Linked DNA regions of Homo sapiens: region 1 is linked to region 2. The links are contacts of gene promoters, found by promoter capture Hi-C in human tissues and cell types (Jung and others, 2019). All regions are on one chromosome and are shown on one strand. The core of a region is centred on a gene start or on the middle of the fragment in contact, and the rest is flanking DNA. Distances in the headings are between cores, read along the strand shown. Region 1 holds the start of CCL22 (C-C motif chemokine ligand 22). Region 2 holds the start of CPNE2 (copine 2).

What was found. The method cuts DNA at HindIII sites, captures the fragments that hold promoters and counts their contacts. A contact is called where the count stands out against the background at its distance.
Region 1: the fragment with the promoter of CCL22 here is called in contact with the fragment with the promoter of CPNE2 in region 2 in 1 of the 25 tissues and cell types used here (heart left ventricle).

The regions. Positions count from the first base shown.
Region 1 is chr16:57,355,942-57,360,388 of GRCh38, reverse strand. It overlaps CCL22 (C-C motif chemokine ligand 22), which reads right to left and starts at 1,606. Exons shown (of 3, transcript NM_002990.5): 1 at 1,500-1,606. The coding sequence starts at 1,572. The HindIII fragment of the contact is 38,120 bases long and covers 1-4,447 here.
Region 2 is chr16:57,089,988-57,094,257 of GRCh38, reverse strand. CPNE2 (copine 2) reads right to left here and starts at 1,675. Exons shown (of 16, transcript NM_152727.6): 1 at 1,468-1,675. RefSeq lists silencers at 1,184-1,593, 1,654-1,703, 1,814-2,063, 2,084-2,153. The HindIII fragment of the contact is 24,624 bases long and covers 1-4,270 here.

The sequences.
Region 1 (4,447 bases), core at 357-2,856, 270 kb before region 2:
CACCCTCGGCCCCAGCCCCTGATCTCGGCCTCTCCAGGCTCCAGGAAAGAGATGCAGTTTTTCTGTTCTCATGTGGAAGGATGGTGACCAGAGGATTCTGAGCCCTCCAAGACCCTACCCTTGGAGCTTCTGAGAAGCCACTTAGGGTCCAATGTCTACACTCTGGGACAGTCAGCTCTAGGAGCGGGGATTCAGAACAACTAAGCATCAGCTGTAGCCTGAGGCCCAATTTCCTCCTCTGACCAAAGGGGTAATAACAGTACCAGCTTCAGAGGGTCTTTAATGCATGAAAAGCACTCAGAAAGCCCAGCAGCTGGGAGCAATTCTTGTTTATAGCTGCCTGACCCCACTCCAGTGCTCACTCCTCCACCCAACACAGCAAAAGTATAGAGTGGGGTGGAGAAGAGGAGTCAGGAATCCATGCTGAGGACAGGTTCTGGACAAAAATGGATAGTGAGCCCAGAGCAGTGGCTCACGCCTGTAATCCTAACACTTAGGGAGGCCAAGATGGGAGTTTCACTTGAGGTCAGGAGTTCGAGACAAGACCGGTCAGCATGGTGAAACCCCATCTTTACTAAAAATACAAAAATTAGCCGGGCATGGTGGCAGGTGCCTGTAATCCCAGCTACTCAGGAGGCTGAGGCAGGAGAATCACTTTAACTCCAGAGGTGGAGGTTGCAGTGAGCTGAGATTGCGCCACTGCACTCCAGCCTGGGCAACAGAGACTCCATCTCAAAAAATAAATAAATAAAATGAAATAAAAAATAAATTTAGGCTAGACGCAGTGGCTCATGCCTGTAATCCCAGCACTTTGGGAGGCTGAGGTGGGAGGATCATCTGAGGTCAGGAGTTTGAGACCAGCCTGGCCAACATGGTGAAACCCTGTCTCCACTAAAAATACAAAAATTAGCCAGGTGTGGTGGTGCATGCCTGTAATCCCAGCTACTCAGGAGGCTGAGGCAGGAGAATCGCTTGAACCTGGGAGGTAGAGGTTGCAGTGGGCCAAGATTGCCCCACTGCACTCCATCCTGGGCAACAAGAGTGAAACTGTGTCTCAAAAAATAAAATAAAATAAAATAAAAAATAATAATAATAACATTTTAAAAAATGGATGGTGGGAGGGCAGCACCAGCTTTCCAAGGGAGAACCCCTTGCCCCAGCCCTGCCTTCCCCCACTCAGACCTGACCCTTAGAAGCTCCTCACCCACACCCCTAGGGCCCTATGCTTGAGTTTTCTGGGGCAGGAGATCCCGAGGCTATGCCCACCACAACCCCCAACCCAGGTGAGACAGATCCTAGACTCCAAGTCTTCAAGACTGCCCATTCAACAGACTTGTAAACTGAGGCCCAGAGAAGCACTGCAACTAGCCGAAGGCCGCAAGAGCCAACAGCAGACTGAGGTCTTCTGCTCTTGGTCCAGTGCTTGTCCAAGACATGAGGAAGACACCCCACCGTCTGCCCTGGCCTCTGTAGGGGGTCTTCCTGCTCCCCAGCCTCACCTGCCTCAGTTGCTTGAAGCGCCACAGCAAGGAGGACGAGGACAACCAGGAGTGCAGTCTGTAGGCGATCCATGCTCTGTCCTGTATGTCTCAGCCCAGGTGTCTGCAAAGGGACATAGGAAGACCTGCTATTTAAGGTGCTGGCTCCACCCACAAGCCTCACTTACTTACCTCTTAGTCACCGGGGTGCCCAGAGTCACTTGACATTCACATCTCAAAAGAAGAACTACCTCCCACTTCCTCCAAAGTGGAGAAATTCTCTTTGGCGGGGAACCACTCAGAGGGGACCCCCCCTCAACTCTGTCCTCGCCTCTGGTTTCAGACAGACTTGTAAAATCCCCCTCTTAGAGGCTTGTGCTCCCCAGGGTCTCTGCACTGTGTGGCCTTGGCCATGTCTGGGTGTCTCTGGGACTTGGTTTCCCCATCTGGAAATGGGGGAGATGGTTTCACAGCTCTGTTGACTTCACTGGTTGTAAATCAAGTGAGAACGTGGACCAACCCTCACCTAGAATTGAGGCCTGTCTTGTACCCTTAATGACGGCATTACTGGTCTCTCTTCAATGGGAGAGGCCTATGGACCCATTGACCCATCTGGGGCTTCTCGTGAAGTCCACATTTGGGCCAGGTCGTGGATTTCTCAACGGTTTATGGAAAGCATCTACCCACACTTCTGTCCTGCCTGATCTTCCTTCCCAGTGGCTGCCGGGCTCTCCCTCCCCCACTCCTGTCTCAGTCCCTCACCATGTCCATGTCCCGTTGATTCTGCTTCCTAAATCTCTCTCAGATCTGCTCCTTCTCTCCAACCCCACTGTTCCTGCCCAGTCCAGGCCACCTCCACCTCAGGCTGGGATGCTGGCCTCCTCAATGCCATCCCCACCCTGCAGCAGCCAGCGTGAGTGGTCCAGAGCTACACACTCTCTCTCCTGCTTCAGAACCCTGCCGTGGCTCCCCATTCACCTAAAGGCAGGTCCCGGGCTCCTGTCTGTGGCCTTCAAGGCCCCGTTTCCGGACAGGCCTTTCCCCACTGGTCTCCTTCCCCTGAGGGATCACACCACACTCCTCACACTTCCTCAAAAGGGACTGCGGCCTGTCCCTGGCCTTTAATGTCACTTTCCACATCTCTACCACATAAACTCCTACTTATGCGTCAAAGCTGTTTGAAATGTCATGTCCTTGGTAAGCACACCCTCTCAGGACTTCAAAGCCTTCTAGGGGACCTGGAATGTGGCCCTGAGCAGACTGGGTCAGGTTTTCTCTTTCTCAAGCCCCTCCCTAGAAGTCAGACTCCAAGCTCTAGGAGGCTGGGGTCTCCCTTCATTTTTCTTGGCATTCCCAGGGCCCTCTGAGGATCAGGCACATGTTGGGTGCTCAGAACACATGGGCTGGGTGCAGTGATTCATGACTGTAATCCCAGCACTTTGGAAGGCCCAGGCAGGTGGATCACCTGAGGTCAGGAGTTCAAGACCAGCCTGGCCAACATGGAGAAACCCCATCTCTACCAAAAATACAAAAATTGGCCGGGTGTGATGGCATGCGCCTGTAATCCCAGCTACTTGGGGGGCTGAGAGGCAGGAGAATCGCTTGAATCCGGTGAGAGGCAGAGGTTGCAGTGAGCCAAGATTGCGCCACTGCACTCTAGCCTGGGTGAGAGAATGAGAGTCCATCTCAAAAAAAAAAAAAAAAAAAAAAAGAAAGAAAGAAAGAAAAAAAAGAACACATCTAATGAAGGAGGAAACTGAGGTTCAGAGAGAGAGGACTTGCCCAGTTCACACAGCCACACAGAGGCTACGCCAGGCCTGGAACTCAGAACTTGGGACTCCATGTATAAAGGGACCCATCCATTCATCCAATTCCTTCATTCAGCAAACATTTATTGAACGCTGTGGTAAACAGAATAATGGCCCCCCTAAATGTCCACATTCTAATCCCCAAAACCTATGAATATGTTACCTTACATGGTAAAAAGGACTTTGCAGATGTGACTGTTTAGGGTTTAGGATTTTTGTTGTTGTTGTCGTTGTTTTAGAGGCAGGATCTCACTCTGTCACACAGGCCGGAGTGCAGTGGTGCAATCACAGCTCACTGCAGCCTTGACCTCCTGGGCTCAAGCGATCCTACTGCCTCAGCCTCTCAAGTAGCTGGGACTACAGGTGTGTGCCACCACGCCCTGCTCATTTTTATTTCTTGTAGAGATGGGGATCTCACTATGTTGCCAGGGCTGGTCTTGAACTCCTGGCCTCAAGCAATCCTCCTATCTTGGCCTCTTGAAGTGCTAGGATTATGGGTGTGAGCCACCATACCTGACCTAGGATCTTTAAAGAGGGAGATTTATTGGATTATCTAGACAGGCCCAAGGCAATCACAGAGTTATTTCAAGAGGGAGGCTGTGGGTCAGAGTCAGAAGAGATGATGGATGACAGAGCAGAGGTCCCAGTGACGTGGAACTGTGAACCCAGGGATGCAGGCGGGCTGGAGAAGCTGGAAGAGGCAAGGAAACAGATTCTCCCCCAGAGCCTCCAGAAAGAACTTATCCCTCCCCACACCTTGATTTTAGTCCACTGAGACTGATTTAGGACTTCTGACCTCCCAGGCTATTGGATAATAAATTTGTGATGTTTTAAGCCACCAAGTTCATGGTCATTTGTTACAGCAGCCAGAGGAAGCTCATACAAGCACCTACTATGTGCCAAGTGCACTGCCAGAGCCTGGGAAGGCAGCCTGAACAGGAGAGCAGGGGCCCCTGCTCTCATGGAGTTTGTCTTCCACAACAGACAAACATGGCAAACAAGGTAATGTCAGGCTGGGAGGAACACCGGGAAGCGAATGAAACAAAGAAGCAGCTTTGGGATAGGCAGTCGGGAAAGGCCTCTAGAACGGGGTGACATTTCAGCTGAAATTCAAAGATAGAAAGGAGGCCAGGCACGGTGGCTCATGCTTGTAATCCCAGC
Region 2 (4,270 bases), core at 426-2,925:
ACAGAAAACCCCCCAAGTCCAAGGGGTGACAAGGCACGCAGACAGGAAGTGACGGCCGCAAAACGAACCCAAGCGTCCACATCCTTCGTCCCTGGTTCTTTCCATGGAGAAACCTGCCTGGGTGACCCCTTCCAATCCAGCTGGCTGGGGCGGTCCTGGAGCTCACCTGGACCTATGCCAGGCGGAATGCCATAAAACCACGCCTTCATGCTGTGTCCATTCTCCAGGAGGCAGGCCCCGGAACATCAGCCCATTTCACAGATGGTGACCCAGAGGGCCACAGGGGGGGAGGGTCTGGGCCAAGTTCCCTGTTGGTCATAGGTGGGGTTCAGACCCAGGTCTCCCAGGCCTCCCCATCAGGGCAGGCTGCAGCTGCCAGGGATTACAATCTGCGCACACCGCCTGTTTCCTGAAAACCATGGGCTCCCTGCAGTCCGTGAAGCTGTGGATGCCCAAGGGGCAGAAAAAGCCCCCCAACCTTTGATGACAGCACACACCTCTAAGGGAGCAAAAAACTAAGGCAGACAAAAAAAAGGGCGTTTTGTCTGGAAGATCATTCTTCCAGACCCCTTGTCCCTTCCCCCAGTACATATGGGGCAGGGGATTCAGATGCAAGATGAACACCCTATTAGCTACCAGAGCCAGCAGCATCTGTGACCTTGGGCAAATCACAGCCCCCTTTGAAGCAGCCCCTTCCCCATAGGAGAGCTTCTTGAACTCGGGGGGACGTGGAGCGAGGCTGGGGGATGGGGTGGGAAGAGCAGGGAAGAGGGTGTAAGACCCCTCTATTTTCAGAGGAGCATCGCTGTGAGAAACGGGGAATAAGAGAGGGCCTTGTTCGCCCGCTCTCTCCATGCCCACCCCCACACCCCCTTTAAACACACAGGTGCCAGACAGCTTTTTCGCAAAAACTAGTTTGCAAACACACTCCGACTTCTGGGAAGCTGCCCAGCTCCACTCCCCCTCTGCGCTCCCAGTACCGGGGCTGGGAGCCGGCCCTCCGGCAGTTGCCTGGGGCAGGGGGTGGGTGTTGAGGGGTGGGAGGAGGGCAGAGGGGAGCGGAGAGGAGCCAGCGCCCGCCGAGAGCCAGGGCGACCTCACGCCTTCAGCAGCTGCGGCAGCGGCGGGTCTCCACCTCCCGTACGCCCTCCAAGCCCCTCGGGGCGGGTGGAAGGGTCCCCAAAGCAGCTGGGCTCGGACCCCCGAGGGCGCCCCCCTCCCCAGGGACCCCGCCCGCCCTTCCCCGCAGTCCGGGAGCCGGCGGGGCGCCCCCGCGTGGCCGGGTCGGAGCTGAGTCACCGAAGCGCCGGAGTCCGGGTTCGCGCTGGCGGCGGGGGCTAGAGCGCCGCAGCCCCCCGAGGCGGAACCCGGGTTCCTTCGGACCCGCAGCTGGATCAAAGAGCCCAGCCCCAAGGCCGAAGTTGGGCACTCACGCCAAGCTGCCCCGCCTGCCCGGGCCCCACTCACCGCAGGTCCCGCGGGCGCCACCGCCCTCACCGCACGGCTGCCGCTGCCCGCGCTCCGAGCCGCCCGGGCATCCCCGGGAGCTGCTCCTGCTCGGCCGGGCCCGCGGGCGCGGGACAGGCTCAGGGCGCTGCCCGCGCGGCCACGGCCCGCTCGCGTGCGCTCCCAGCCGCTCGGGGTCCGGTCCTCCTCCCGGGCCGGGCGGGCGGGCGGCGGCGGCGGCGGCGGCTCGGGCTCCTCCCTCCGGCCGAGGAGGGGAGTGGGGAGGGAAGTGGGAGGCGAGGCGGGAGCTTCCTGGAGGGGCGCGCGCTCTCCCACGGGAGGAGCGGGGGCGCTGTCCCGCCCGCAGTCCGCCGCTCCCAGCCCGCGCCCGGCGCGCCGCGGCACTCGGGGCGCCTGGCACCGAGGGGGCCCGAACGTTCGGGCCGAACGCGAGGGTCCGAAGGTTCCAGGCTGGGACTCAGGTGGCTGAGGATCGGAACAACGCGGCTTCGCGCCCTCCCCAGGCCTGCTTTGCCCGAGCCTCTGGCACCTCCGAGTTCCGAGCGCCGTGCGCTCAGGGCCACCGACGCGGGAACAGAGGGGTGGCCTCAGCCCGGGCCTGCGGGGCCCCAGGGCCGCTTGGACCCCCAGCGCCGATGGGAGCGGCGCTGCGCCCTCGGGGCAACACCCAAGGCTGGGTTCTGGGTTGTATTGGGCAGGATTAGGGCCGCAGTGTTTTCTTCCCTTTTTTTTTTCAATAGCAAAAGAGCTCGGCATTTTCTTGCCGCCAGAGATTGGAAATATGACATATTTCTCTGACACAGACGATAAGATAAAGACGGATCCGAACTGGGCCTGGGTCTACTCATCCGTGCGGAAAATTAGGCGAGTCTTTAAGGCCTTGGAGCCCAGGCCTCCTTTTCCCTAGAAGAGGCACCAATTCTTAGGACACTTGTCTGTCGCTGGGCGCTCAAGCCTTTGGCCACTCCGCGGTATTTAGGTGCTCTCTGGGCAAGTTCACCACCGGGCATCAGAAGGCTGAGCCTCACGTAACCAGATTCTGGGGGGCGGGGCTTTCCCGGGGATCTCAAGGCCATGTCCACAGCCCTTGGCCCTGGGGCTCAAGGACTGGGCAGCTGAGGGTTAATGCCGAGTGCTTCCATTGTGGCTTTTCGATTCCAGGCAGGTGAGGGTTAATGTGGGAGCCTCGCGCGCTGCAGCCTGTGAGCCTCCCTCCACGTCTGAGTCACTGGCACTTTGCAGCCTTACAGGGGCCGAGACTAAACAGCCCCCGGGGCTCTGAGCTTTGTTCTCTGCCTGCCTGTCACCCATCCATCTTTCCTTTCTCCAAGCTCTCTTCACCTTTCTTCCACCGAAGCCAATCAAAGCCCTCTGCCCCGCTCTGGGGCAAACCAACCTATCAACCCAACTCCAGCCCCGCTTCCTCCAGGAAGACTTTCCTGATTGCTCTGGCCTCAGAATCTGTCTCTTGTCTTTCCAGCAGCAGGAGAGCCAGGCACTGGGATGGACAGTGGTGAACCAAAGCAGATAGTCTCTCTCAAGTTGCTCACCTGTGGGGGCCAAGATCAGGACCCAGGCCATCATATCACCATATGAAATGTGCAAAGATTGGAGGTAGGGTGGCACAGAAGACCCAACTCAGCCATGGGAGTCAGCGAGGCTTCCTTTAAGAAACCTGAAGGATGAGATAGTTGGGCCTGTCAAGGAAGATACTAGATCCCTAGCCAAGGAGGCAGAGTACAAAGGCCAGGGGTCACAGCAATTCCACTCCTAGATATCTACCCGGGAGAAATGAAAACATATGGCCACACAAAACATACACAAATGTACGTAGCAGCATTATTCATAATAGCCAAAAAGTGGAAACCACGCAAATGTTCATCCACTGATGAATGGAAAAACAAAATGTGGTATATCCACACAACATAGAATATTATACAGCCATAGAAAGGTACGAATTACTGGCCAGTTGTGGTGGCTCACACCTGTAATCCCAGCACTTTGGGAGGCCAAGGCGGGCGATTACTTGAGGTCGGGAATTCAAGACCAGCTTGGCCAACATGGCAAAACTCTGTCTCTACTAAAAATATAACAATTAGCCAGGCGTAGTGGCAAGAACCTGTAATCCCAGCAATTCGGAAGGCAGGAAGGAGAATCACTTGAGCCCAAGAGGCGGAAGTTGCAGCCAAGATTGCGCCACTGTACTCCAGCCTGGGTGACAGAGGGAGATTCCATCCCCCCTCCAAAAAAAAAAAGAAAGGAAAAAAAGAAAGGTGGGAAGTACTGATACATGCTACAGTATGGACAAACTTGGAAAATATTATGCCCAGTGAAAGAAGCCAGTCTCAGACAAATATTACATGGCTCCATTTAGATGAAATGTCCAGAATAGACAAATCCACAAACAGACAAAGCAGATTTGTGGTTGCCTCGGCCGGGGAGTGGAGAATGGGGAGTGATTGCTATTGGCAAAGGGTTTCTTTGGGAGATGATAAAAAATGTTCTAAAGTTAGATTCTAGGCAGAGTGCGGTCCTGCCTGTAATCCCAGCACTTTGGGAGGCCGAGGCAGACAGATTACTTGAGGCAAGGAGTTCAAGACCAGCCTGAGCAACATAGTGAGACCCCACCATCTCTACCAAAAAAAAAAAAAAAATTAGCCGGGTGTGGTACCTGCCTGTAGTCCCAGTTAGGAGGCTGAGGTGGGAGGATTGCTTAGGAGGTTGAGGCTGTGGTGAGCCATGATCACACCACTGCACTCCGGCCGGGGTGACAGAACAAGACCCTGTATGAAAAAAAAAAAAA